Regions from separate parts of the Homo sapiens genome. Here all the other regions are linked to region 1. Evidence: promoter capture Hi-C in human tissues and cell types (Jung and others, 2019). All regions are on one chromosome and are shown on one strand. The core of a region is centred on a gene start or on the middle of the fragment in contact, and the rest is flanking DNA. Distances in the headings are between cores, read along the strand shown.

Region 1 (4,101 bases), core at 900-3,399:
CGACATGAATTGTTCTTGCCTGGAATGGGCTGGGAATAGTATTTCACAGGACAGAGAAAAATTTTCATTGAAAAATCGAAAACACTTGCAAGATAGCCTGGAGGCTGATGGGCCTCAAGAGGAGTGTCTGTGGCAAATCTGCACAGTGGACCCAGGGACACAAGGAGAGAGGAGCCAGGATGCAGCTGCGGTGGGTGGAAGGTAGATGGAGGCTGTGTGTGGAACTTTCTGTTCTCGCATTCAGCACTCTCTCCCCCATGAGAGTAAACACTTGTTGAAGACAGAGACTTAGAAATACTCATCTGTGTCCCCACACTAGCCTCTCTCTCAAGCACAGAAAAATAACTTGCTAAATGCCCACCGAGTGGATGAGCCCACGCTCTAGGCCTGGCTGAACCTCCTTGAGATTGAGGCCCTGAGGGAGCCATTTCACATCTCCCCTCCTGTTTCCTCTTCCAAGAGGGGGCCGGTAAAAATACCTACCTGCTGCACAGACCCCTTGTTGCAGGGTTGAAAGACAGTAGCTTCAGGGAGGTGTCAGCTGAGGCCACGGATCCGACGGCCCCAGGATCCTCAGTCCATGGGGCCCAAGAGTCATAAAACAAGAACATGAATCCATCTGTCTGTCTGGTATTCCTGGAGCTTGGTCACGCTGCGGGAGCTCTGGCTTGCAGCTGGCAGGGCCCGGGGTTGAAGGGACAGCTCCCAGCATGGAAGGCTATGGGTGGGGGGACATTGCAAGAAGCACTGATGCTCCCCTCTGCAGTCCCCACCCAGTCCTGACTTTGCTTGTCTAGACTGGCTCGAGGAGGGGGTCGGCAGCTGGCGATTCTGCCTCTCCAGGAAGTGCAGCTGGGACTGTAGGGTCCCCAGGGACTTGCAGGATCCTCTGCCTGATAATCGTGGAGAAATAAGGGAAGGTGTCTATAGGAGGCAGGTGGTGCCTGGCCTTAGAGGAGAGCCCCAGCAGAGCGACCTCCACGACAGAGAAACCCCAGAACGCCCAGACTGCAAGCTCCAGGAGCAACAAAAGTGGACTGTGCCCCTCGAATGAGGGAATATCTGTCTGTCTGGTTGACTGCCAGCTGTGTGTGTGTGGTCATCTCTGTCTCTGTGTGTCTTTCTCTGGAGCGTTTTTATTTAAGCTTTTGACTTCCTTTATTACTGGTGTGGACTTGTGTGTGGGCATCCTGTTGCCAGTTTATGATGCACATGTGTGGAATCGCCCTGAGCTTGCCTTTGATATTGGTGTGTTGTGTGGTGTCATTGGCGTGCACGTGTATGTGTGTGTCGCTGATTCTCATGCAAGAATGTGCTTCTCTTATGTGTCTGTCGGAGTGTGCCTCTAGCATGTCCCTCTTGGCTGCTGCACCACCTTTCCTGGCCCTTACCACCTCTTGGCCCACCATATGGGTGCTTTTGTATCCAATTCCCCTCCTTAGCAGGTCAGCTCCTGGAGGGCAGGCACTTGGTCTCTTTTGTCCATGGCTCTGTTCCCAGCTCCTACAACAGTGCTAGGCACTAGTGGGCGCTCAGCAAAATAAAACTGACGGAATGAACGGTGTGTCCAACGCATGTGCCTCTCCAGTTGTGCAATTAATCTTGGTGTGATACTGTGTGTGAGTGGGGTTGTGAGACAATGAGGATTTCTGTTGTGTGTTTGTAATGAACTCGGAATGTGCACAAGCATATATGTGTATGTGTGTGCAACATTGAGTATGGTGTGCATGATCGAGCCCCTGTGTATCTCTGGAGAGCATGTGTGATTGACTCTCGTGTGTGTGCCAGCATGTCTGTGCATCTCTCATGTGTTTGGCGTAATTGTCTGGTGTGCAGGTATGAACCCGCGTGTGCCTCCAGAGCGTGTGGGCGCGCGAGTGTACGCACACGGCTCCTGCCCCGCGCTCTCCTCGCGCCCTGCGCTCCGCCTGGGGGCGGAGAGTGGGGGGTGCGGCGAGGGCACTGCGGTGCCGCGGCCCGCCCTCCGCGCTGCGGCTCGGGAGCGTCACCGTCCCTCCCCGCCCCAGCCGCGATCCCCGCCTCCTGGTCCTTTGTAGCTGGCCGCGCCGCTAGCCCGCAGCCGCCCAGAGGCCCCGCCCCGGCCCCGCCCCGGCGCGCGCCACGCCCCGCCCCTCCCCTCCCTGGGCCGCAGTCGCGCCCGGGCCGCCGCAGGCCCGCACCGAGGCGCGGAGCGCGGCGCACGGCGGTGCCCAGGGCCGCGGGCGGGCAGGCGGGAGCGCGGTGGGTGGCCGGCCTTGGACGGGTATGGCGGACCGGCGGCGCGCGTGGAACACCGAGGACGACCTGCCCGTGTACCTGGCGCGGCCGGGCAGCGCGGCGCAGACCCCGCGCCAGAAGTACGGCGGCATGTTCGCCGCGGTGGAGGGCGCCTACGAGAACAAGACCATCGACTTCGACGCCTACAGTGTGGGCCGCCGCGGCTCGGCGCGCACGCCGCGCAGCGCTGGCCGGCCCGACGCGGTCGGGCTGCCAGGGCCGGGAGGCAGCGAGGACACGGCCAGCGACGTGAGCGAGCCCTCGGGCTCCGCGGTCAGCTCTCCCGGAGAGCGCGACGAGCGGCCGCCGACGCTGCGCATCCGCCGCCCCGCGCCCCGCGACCTGCCCCTCGGCCGGGACAATGGCCAGGTACCCTCGGGGCGCGCGCGGGCCAGACGAGGGGGGCGGGCCCCGGGAGGACCCAGGGCATGGGGCGCCCGAGGGCCATGCCCGGGCCCCGGTGTTGGGGCAGCGGCCGCCAGGCTGGGGAGAGCCACGGCGCGGCCCCTCCCCCACCTCATCATGCAAGAGGTTCCCAGAGCTGGGGCGACTCGGTCGGGGCTGGCCGGCGTGGTCCGTGAGACTCGGAAGGGATCGCCCGGGTCCAGTCCCGGCTCCTCTTCTACAGAAAGGGAGAGAGGTTCTGAGAGGGGAAGTTGGCTAAAGCTACCGCATGGACGCTTAAACGCGAAGGAACCTCTGGGATGAATCTAACCCAGGCCCCTCATTCTGTTTTGTGAAAAGAACTGGAGCTCCGTTCCGTGTTGGTCCATTCATCCATCCACTCAGTCGGTAGTAATTATAGAGCACCTACTGTGTGCCGGGCCCCGGGAGAGGTTCCGCGAGTCGCCTGCGGCCACACAGCTTAAAGCTGGAAGGAGCTTTTTTTCCGAGCGCTCCCCTCATGCTTGCTGGGGGGAAGGATTTGGTTAAGGATTTAGTTCGTCGGGCAGTTGGAGCCGTAAACCCCTACCCTCAAGCGCCAGTAGATTCAAGGGGCACTCCTGAGCTCCACAGCACACACCGATGTGCCTGCTTCACAGAGCAAGGTGGAGGTAGAGCTGGGATTTGAACTGGGGTCTCTGGCCTCCCGGACCTGAGCATGGGGCCGGGAGGATCAGGGAGAGGGAACGCTAGGGCTTGGGCCCTGCGGGTATTCTCTCTTGAGCTGGGGGTCACCAGGAAACTGGGGGAAGAAGGGCGGATGGACGGCGTAGCCTTTGGATGGACCGACGAGAGCCAGGGTCAGGTGCCAGAAAAACGGAAGTTGGAGCATCCGAGGGCTGGGGAGCTTTCGAATTGGTCCAGACCTGGATGCCGGAGAACTGCTAGGTGCCAGGCCCAGGGTAGGCGCTAGGTCCCTGGCTCAGCAACCTGGCCCCACCCTCCAGAAGTTCCCAGGCTAGGGTGAGCGACGGATTCATTGTGAGAATTAAATCAGTTAATGCCGGTCGGTAGTGAGCATTCAATAAATGTTTGTTGTTGACTTTTATTACAATCATTATCATTTTAATTAAACCTTCCCCTCTTAAATGCTATGAGTGACCCAAAGTGAGCCTGGAGGGAAGCAGAGCTTGATCGGGGCAGATATCTGGGAGGGCTTCCTGGAGGAATAGGAGCAGGGAACTGGTAAACACGGTGGTGGGCCTCTTCGGGCCCCATCCCTTCGCGGGCGGGCTGTTGCTCCAGAGCTCTCCGTGGTCCTGAAGCCGGAGCCTCGCGAGGGAGAGGTCCAACAGCAAGGGTGTGTGTGTGTGTGTGTGTGTGTGTGTGTGTGTGTGTATGTGTGTGTGGTGGTGGGGTGATCAGAAAGGGAGATGGTGC
Region 2 (4,016 bases), core at 422-2,921, 67 kb before region 1:
TATGATGGGATGATAATAATAGCACTTATCTCCTTGGATTTTGTAAAGATGCAATGAATCAATATGTGGAAAGTGCTTGGAACGACATATTGCAAGAGCTCAGTAAATGTTCACTGTTGTAGACTGAATCCTAGGAAACTGCCAATATTATACTACTCTTTCCCTCAGAAACAGTAATTTCATATGGCTTAAACTATCCTTATCATTATTATTATAGTTGTTGTTTTTGAGATGGAGTCTCCCTCTGTTGCCCAGGCTGGCGTGCAGAGGCACGATCTCGGCTCACTGCAACCTCTGCCTCCCAGGTTTGAGCGATTCTCCCGCCTCAGCCTTTTGAGTAGCTGAGATTACAGGTGTGCACCACCACACCTAGCTAATTTTTGTATTTTTAGTAGAGACATTCATTTCAAAACAAAAAGCTAAACTACGTTAAAATAAATCTATGCATTGTGACACTTCCTGGGGAGCCCTCAGTTCCTTGTCCTTGTCCTTGTTTGTCCTTCCATGAAGAGACAGCCACTTCCAGGAGGGGACAGAATTGGACAGGTAGCGGCTTTAGTATAAACAGGGTTTTACCATGTTGGCCAGGCTGGTCTCGAACTCCTGACCTCAGGTGAGCCACCCACCTCAGCCTCCCAAAGTGCTGGGATTACAGGCATGAGCCAGGCCGACTATCATTATTATTATTATAAGATGGAGTCCAGACTCCTGATGCGCACATTAGTCAGCCCAGAATGACCTTGCGTTTTAAACACATAACAGAACCCTGCTCCTCCCCAAAAGCCGAGCTCAGACACTGCCTCCATGAGGCCTTCCCAGCTCCTCAGTGTGCAGTCAGTACTTCCGTCCTGGAGGCTTCATCAGCACCTGTGTGGGTCTCTCTTCGGGCTTGAACCCTGCAGCATAATATTGAGTTTATGTGTCTGCCTCTCCCACTGGATTGGAAGTGCTCTGAGGGCAGGGACAAGGTCAGGCTTGGCACATAGTGATCGCCGATTCCCTGCCTCTGCTGTCCAGCCTCTTTTTCAGCCGTCTTCCACCAGTGAGGCAAAAGGCCCTGCTCATTGCAAACCTGCGGCTGCTCTTGCCTCCTGGAACTGGTGGAGAAGTCGGCTCCATTCTGCTCATCTGTCTGGCAAGGCACTGACACACCTGCCACACCCTTTAGAGGAGGGAGAAGAGGCATTAGCAGGACTCACATGTTACCTGGTGAGGCAGTCCTGCCTGTCATTTGCGGGAAGGTGCCTGAGAGGTGTGAGATGTTGGTCGTGAAGGGATCACAGGTACAATAGTGACTGGAAAGGAGACGTAGAAAGAGTGGAGGTTTGAAATCAGATGGGCTTGGCTTTGAAGTCGAAGCCACTTCAGAGCTAATACATTTAATGAAGGCATTTAGAATCTCTTAAACTGTTAAGTGGGTTTTCATCTATAAAGTGGGCCTGATGATAGCTTGTTGCAGGAACTAAGTGAAGGCAAGTAAGATGGCACATTTGGGGAAAGCCCTGAGATGTGCTGGGCATGAGGTTTGCAACCAGCAAGACATGACTTCCCCTTTCAAGGGAAGGTCACTTTCTCTTATCACCGGGAAGGAGAAAATTTATAGAGGATATCCACTCTACAGGAACGCCCGCTCATGACTGTATTGTCAGGCACCTGCCACATGACGTGGAGAGGGAGCCTCACGCTGCCCCAATCTCATTTTCTGACCCAGAACGCAGTGATGACAGCATGTGTCTCACTGAACTGTCACCAAAGGAAGTGAGCCAATGTGTGAGGAGTATTTGGTGCCAGGCACAGAAAGTGCCCCGAAACCGTTAGCTATCACTGTCATCTCTTCCTTTGATTAAATGTGTGAATGGAGGGGCTTTTACAAACATGTGGACGCAGAGACCATTTCATTGTCCTCTTGCCTGCAGCTCCCTCTGTCCTTGGTGTCCACGCTTGATCCTGGAACGTGCCTGGCAGCGGTCACTGTGGAACCAGGTCTCCCCGCACAACGTCTGCAAGAAAAAGGCGGAATGCCCTGTCCTGCCCTCCAAGTCGATAACGTCCCAGCACCCTCTGAGCTCCTGAGCCCAGCAAGGATCCTGGCTTTTCACCAAGAGCTTAGACAAAGCATTTGCAGCAATTCCCAGGTCCATAAATCACCGCTGGAGTTAGAAATGTAATAGGGCCACTCATTCTCCGGAGCCATTTCATAGACTCCATAAATATTTGAAGCAGAACCTTCAGAGAGTGCTTTAAGAAATTGGTAGCAATCAGAGCCCTCATTTAGTGGCAAGTGGTTTTGCCTTCGGCTTTGGGATTTTGTGTTCATTGTCAGAGCTTGAGAGAAACGCTGGCCTGTGCCTGGCAAATTCTGAGGAGTTTGGCTTTGGCAATGTCAAGGCAGCATAGGAAATATTTACTGTACCAAAACCTATTGAATGATTGGTCCAGAGGTTCTCAACTGGGCACAGTTTTAGCCCCCCAGGGAAAATCTGGCCATGTCTGGAGACATTTTTGGTTGTCACAGCTGGGACACTGCTACTGGCATCTGGTGGGTAGAGGCCAGGGATGCTATGAAATGTCCTACAATACCCAGGCCAGCCTCCTACAGCAAAGAATTACAGCCCGAGGGTCGCCAGTGCTGAGGTCGAGAGTCCAGGACGGATCTCATAGCTCCCAACAAGATCAGCCATGGAGAATTGTTTTGTTTTGTTTTTTCTCTGCCCCCGGGGTCCTTCCCATGTTTTAAAAGATTTTTTGTCTACTAAGTGAAACGCCTAAGTCACCATATATTTTACATTTAAAAACATTAAAACTAACCAGAACTTTCTAATCAGTCCATCCACTCCAAAAACGTCTGTTGATATCCACTGGATGCCAGGCAATGTGGCATGAAGGAGAAGAGACAAGTCAATGTTGATCCTGGCGCCGGGGACCTCACAGGACAATGGGAGAGATACTCCTGTGAGTAAATCAGCACGCACGCAAGTGTCACATGTGCCCTGAGCAACGGGATGAAGGTAAGGGTCCGTTCTACTTGGCTTGGGACAACTGGAAGTCAGCCACAAAGGAATGGCTGGGCAGTGTCCGGTGGGTGAGGTGGGAAGGGTGCTGCTGTACGAGGGAACGCATGTGCAAAGGCCCTGAGGCATAAAACTGAACTGTGGATGTGCCCCTGGAGGGGAAGTGGGCAAAGCATGCTCTTGTCAAGCCAGCTGCAAGCAGTCACTGCATCGTTCCCATCCAGCACCCCTTCCTTCCACCGAGAACAGAGACTCGTGCCCCGAATCAGGTGGGCGACCCAGGAGAAGAGCACTTCTATCCTGAGGGCAGCCCCCCAAAAAGAGAGTCTAGGGGGCTTGGACGACACACACCAGACCCTGACCCAGGCTCACCCACCAGAGATGTCACCTCTCTCTTTGGGAAGGGGCTGAGGAGGGGCTTAAGGGAAAGGCCAAAGCCGCTACCTGTCCAATTCTGTCCTCTCCTGGAAGTGACTGTCCCTTCATGGAAGGACAAACAAGGACAAGGACAAGGAACTGACGGCTCCCCAGGAAGTGTCAAAGTGTATAGATTTATTTTAACGTAGTTTAGCTTTTTGTTTGAAATGAAAATTACACAGAGTTCCCGTAGACTCTTCCCCGGGCTTCCCTTGATGTTAACATCTCATGTGACTTATGTTGTACAATTATAGAAACTAGTGGGTTTTATTTCGAGGAAAATTGGGGAGCCATTGAGACGTAAGAAAGGCAGCCTCAGCACATTGAGTTCCACCCTTTAAATTCGTTTATGGGGTTTTCTGATGGGTTAGCACATTCATCCATGTATTCCTGGATTGATTTACCCACAGATCTGTCTATTTATTTATTTATTCAATATGCATTTAGTGACTGCTGTGCGAGTGTCTGGCTGGATGCTGCTGGGGAAGAAGTGAAGATGATGCTGTCCACCTAGGTTTTCAGGGACCCCCCTGGAGACCCTGTGGCCCCGTTACCACCCCTCAAGAATCCCCAGATTGGAAACCACTG
Region 3 (4,200 bases), core at 143-2,642, 85 kb before region 1:
CAAAATATTCCCACTGGGGGAAACCGGGCAAAATGTTCAAGGTACACTCCAGCCCAGGTGACAGAGCAAGACCCTGTCTCTAAAAAACATGTACAAGAGGGCTCTGTATTATTTCTTACAACTGTCTGCAAATCTTAATCATCTAAAATATAAAAGCTTTCCTTCTCCTCAACCTTAACATTTTCTGACTTCCAATATTTTTTCAACTCTACCACCCACTTTCTGAATGTGTGTGTATGTGTACATGTTTGAAATTATACTGTACAAAACCATGCTGCATCTTCATTTTGTCATTTAATTAAGAATCTTGTGGCATTTTCATATCAACACATGCAAAGTGAACTCATTCCTTTAAAATCGTGTGTATTATGTCATCATGAGGCCAAATCATAACTTATTTAATCAATTTTTCTGTTTGTGGAAATTCAAGTTGTTTCCATTTCTTTGCATTACAAACACAGCTCCAATGAACATTTTTATTTCTCTCTCGGCATATACTTCTGCTGTATATCTAAATGGCAAATTTCTAGCAAAAGAAAGGATATATAAATCATTAACTGTGATAGGTAATGGCAAGTAACCCTCCAAAATGATAGCATCATTTATACTCCCACTAAGAAGAAACAAGTCTACTCATTTGCCCATAACTCGTTATCCTGAATGTTAGCAACTTTACAATTGTTGGACAAGTCAATGGATGAAAAATACAGCCTCAGCATTACGGTATAATTTCCAGCTCTTCTCCCATGTGTTCTTTGTAAGATCAAAGCATGTTATATGTAGAGTTTTATGTTCATTTGCCCATGTGGCTGCATAGTCCTCATACATATGATTATTTGACTGTGTGGTAATCTATGATTGTTTGTGTAGTAATCTATTGGGTGGATGTGGTTTCCTTAACTATTCCCCAATTGTTGCATCTAGAGCATTTCTATGAACTTACACATAACTGTTTATATATAACAGTTCAGAGAGCTGGGACTACTGGCTCCAAAGGTGGCAATATTGTTGATTCTTAGCTATATATCACAAATTGCTTTCCAAAGTAGTGGTATCCACTTCCATGCCACCAACAATAAATGAGTGTGTCTCGTTCACCGTGTCTTCAACCAACACAAGAGCTAGTATTGCTTTTTTCTCTTATCTGTCACTGGCCTGTGGGGAGGGGGTGTGTGTGGAAACTTCAGTTACACATGAATTAGACTTTAAGTATATTTGAAATTATTTTCATTCTTTTTTCTTTCTGCTCAGTTTCAATATTTCCTTTGAATCTCTCTTCCAGCTAAATAGTACTCTTTGGATGAATCTAATTTGCTCCTAAACTCACTTTAGTTCTTAATTTCAGTTAGTCTATTTTGCAGGTGGAGAATTTCCCTATGATTCTTTTTTTTATAGTTCTCAGTTTTATGATGAAATTTTTGTAATGTAATTCCTGAACATCTCTATCGCAGTTGCTTTAAAGAGGAAGAGTGTCTCTGATAACTTCATTTTATGTTCTCACCAGCAGTGTAGGAAGGTTCCAACTTCTCATTCTCACTAACATTTGCTACTAGCTGTCTTTTCTATCATAGACATCCTAGTTAGTGGGAGATTGTCTCTCATTGGTTTTGAGCTGTATTTTCTGATGGCTAATAATGTGGAACATCTTTTCACGTGCTTGTGGGTCATTTGTATGTCGTATTTGAAGAAGAGTTTATTCAGATTCTTCCCATTTTTCTAATAGGGTTAATTGACTCTCTTTTTGTTGAGTTGTGAGAGTTCCTTTTATGTTCTAGATAGAAGTCCTTTATTAGATATATGATTTGCAAATATTTCCTCCAATTCTGTAGGTTATCTTTTTAATTTCTTCTTGTTCACTTTTTGATTGCAAATGCCCAATACTTATCTCACTGTGGCATATTTATGTTATTTCCTAAACTGAAGCAGACAGAAGGTTTAATCCAAGGCTGCAAATATGATTGAGTGCTTTTTGAATGTAAGACAGTCTGCTTAAGGCTGGAATTTTACTCTTTGAATACGTTAGGAATGCTGTGCCAAAACAGATATATGGAAATATGCATTGAAATCTTCTTTGTAAAACAAAGAAACAGAACTAAGATAAATTTCCATAAACAAGGAACTGGTTAAATCAATTTTGTTTTGACTTTGTAATTAAATAACATGCAAGCTTTTAAAAGAATGAGGTCAGTTTCTATGTGTTAATATGAAAATACCATCAAAATTTTTGTATCACATACAAAGTGATCTCATTCTTTTAAAATCTTGCATATTATTTAATTATGAAGCAAGATGCAAGACCTTTTGCACAGTATAATTTCATATACACACATTCTGATCCATATAGGTATGTTGGTCCGAAGAGTTTGGGGGTGAGGAAGAGGCTTGCGGCTTTTTATTTGATTTTTTTAACTGACTGCAAAGGGACTGAGAGAGTTAGAAGAACTCACACAACACCTGTTTTGTTGTATCTTATGGGTCCAGAATTCAGATAGGACTCGGCTAGGCTGTTCCGCCCTCCAGGGGATCAGTGGGCATGACTCAGTGGCATCCGGCTGGATGCCAGTCTCGGCTGGGGGGTCCCCGGCGGCCTCACTCACATCCTGCCCCCTCTGCAGGGTGGCGGAAGGCAGCTCCCGCTGGTGCCTTCCCTTTTTTCTGTCATGTCTCACGGTCTCCCCAGAGGGCACCTGGAATTCTTAAATCCTGGCTCAGAAACAGAAGAGACCCAAAGTGGAAGCTGCCAGTCCTATTCAGTGCCAGGCCCACAAAGGCCTCAGGGCCACTTCCACTGCATTCTATGAGTCAAGGCATCTCAGGCCAGCCCAGATCTGAGGGAAGGTGATAGGAACCCCCTCCATGGGGAGCAGTCTCAAAGAATCTGTGTCCAGCTTTCATCTGCGCCTAATAGTAACATTAGTTTATTGATCACTGACAGGTGCCAGGGCTTGTTCTAAGCACTTTACATGGATAGGTTCACTGAATCCTCACTACAGTTCTCACCAGTGGGTGGGCACTCCTATGAGCCCCCTTCACAGATGAGAAGACTGAGGCAGAGAGTGTCTTGCACAAGATCTCAGTTCCAGCGACTGGCTGAGCCGGGATTAGGACCCCTGCTGTCTGGCTCAGGAACTTGTATGTTTACCACAAGACCAGAAAACTGCCAGGCTGCCTGGAGACTCAGAAGAGGGCTTGGAGCTGGCCCCAGCCACTGCAGCTGGGCAGAGCTGATTCTTTTTTTTTTTTTTTTTTTTTTTTTCCGAGACAGAGCCTCGCTCTCTCGCCCAGGCTGGAGCGCAGTGGCGCAATCTCGGCTCACTGCAAGCTCCGCCTCCTGGGTTTACGCCGTTCTCCTGCCTCAGCCTCCTGAGTAGCTGGGACTACAGGTGCCCACCACCACACCTGGCTAATTTTTTTTTTTGTATTTTTTTTTTTAGTAGAGATGGGGTTTCACTGTGTTAGCCAGGATGGTCTCGATCTCCTGACCTCGTGATCCGCCCACCTCGGCCTCCCAAAGTGCTGGGATTACAGGCGTGGGTCACTGCGCCCGGCCAAGCTGATTCTTGAGTATTCAGAATATCTGTCCTCCCCTGATCCTGCCAGGCAGGTGGTGGGAAAGGCCCCTGTTCCTGGCACTGAGTCCCCATGAGGGTAAAGAGGGCAGGCAACTGCCAGCTGTTCTGAGCCCAGCTTGCCTGGGGAAGCTCTGGACAGTGGTAAGTGACAGTGCAGTGTTGTCAAAAATGTCGCTTTTATTTCAGCTTGAAGAACTTCAGAAAAAGCAACATGAAGCAAAGTTGGCAGTGACTCCCCTGAAGGTAATATGTTCATAAAATCAACATGAAATGCCTCTTTCAAAACAAAAGAGAGTTTAGTAGTTTTCCTGTTAGACATGTAATCCACCTCTATTGTATAAAAGTCTGGGTAGGGCCAGGCACGGTGGCTCACACCTGTAATCCCAGCACTTTGGGAGGCTGAGGCGGGTGGATTGCTTGAGCTCAGGAGTTTGAGACCGGCCTGGGCAACATGGCCAAATCCCATACAGGCGTGATGGCATGCGTCTATAGTCCCAGTTACTTGGGAGGGCTGAGGGGGGAAGATTGCTTGAACCCAGGAGGTCAAGGCTGCAGTGAGCCGAGATCACGTCACTGCTCTCCAGCTTGGGCAACAGAGTGAGACCCTGACTCAAAACAAAACAAAACA

The links. The method cuts DNA at HindIII sites, captures the fragments that hold promoters and counts their contacts. A contact is called where the count stands out against the background at its distance.
Region 2: a fragment that was not itself captured here is called in contact with the fragment with the promoter of CRMP1 in region 1 in 2 of the 25 tissues and cell types used here (H1 embryonic stem cells and IMR-90 fibroblasts).
Region 3: a fragment that was not itself captured here is called in contact with the fragment with the promoter of CRMP1 in region 1 in 3 of the 25 tissues and cell types used here (H1 embryonic stem cells, hippocampus and mesendoderm cells).

What each region holds. Positions count from the first base shown.
Region 1 is chr4:5,891,134-5,895,234 of GRCh38, reverse strand. It overlaps CRMP1 (collapsin response mediator protein 1), which reads left to right and starts at 2,149. Exons shown (of 14, transcript NM_001014809.3): 1 at 2,149-2,646. The coding sequence starts at 2,266. RefSeq lists an enhancer at 3,544-4,101. The HindIII fragment of the contact is 12,427 bases long and covers 1-4,101 here.
Region 2 is chr4:5,957,527-5,961,542 of GRCh38, reverse strand. C4orf50 (chromosome 4 open reading frame 50) reads left to right here. Exons shown (of 12, transcript NM_001364689.3): 12 at 1,917-2,168. The coding sequence ends at 2,168. Among named protein-coding and RNA genes, the nearest start is that of MIR378D1, 36 kb to the right of the region's middle. The HindIII fragment of the contact is 6,092 bases long and covers 1-4,016 here.
Region 3 is chr4:5,975,514-5,979,713 of GRCh38, reverse strand. C4orf50 (chromosome 4 open reading frame 50) reads left to right here. Exons shown (of 12, transcript NM_001364689.3): 8 at 3,759-3,815. Among named protein-coding and RNA genes, the nearest start is that of C4orf50, 41 kb to the left of the region's middle. The HindIII fragment of the contact is 5,714 bases long and covers 1-4,200 here.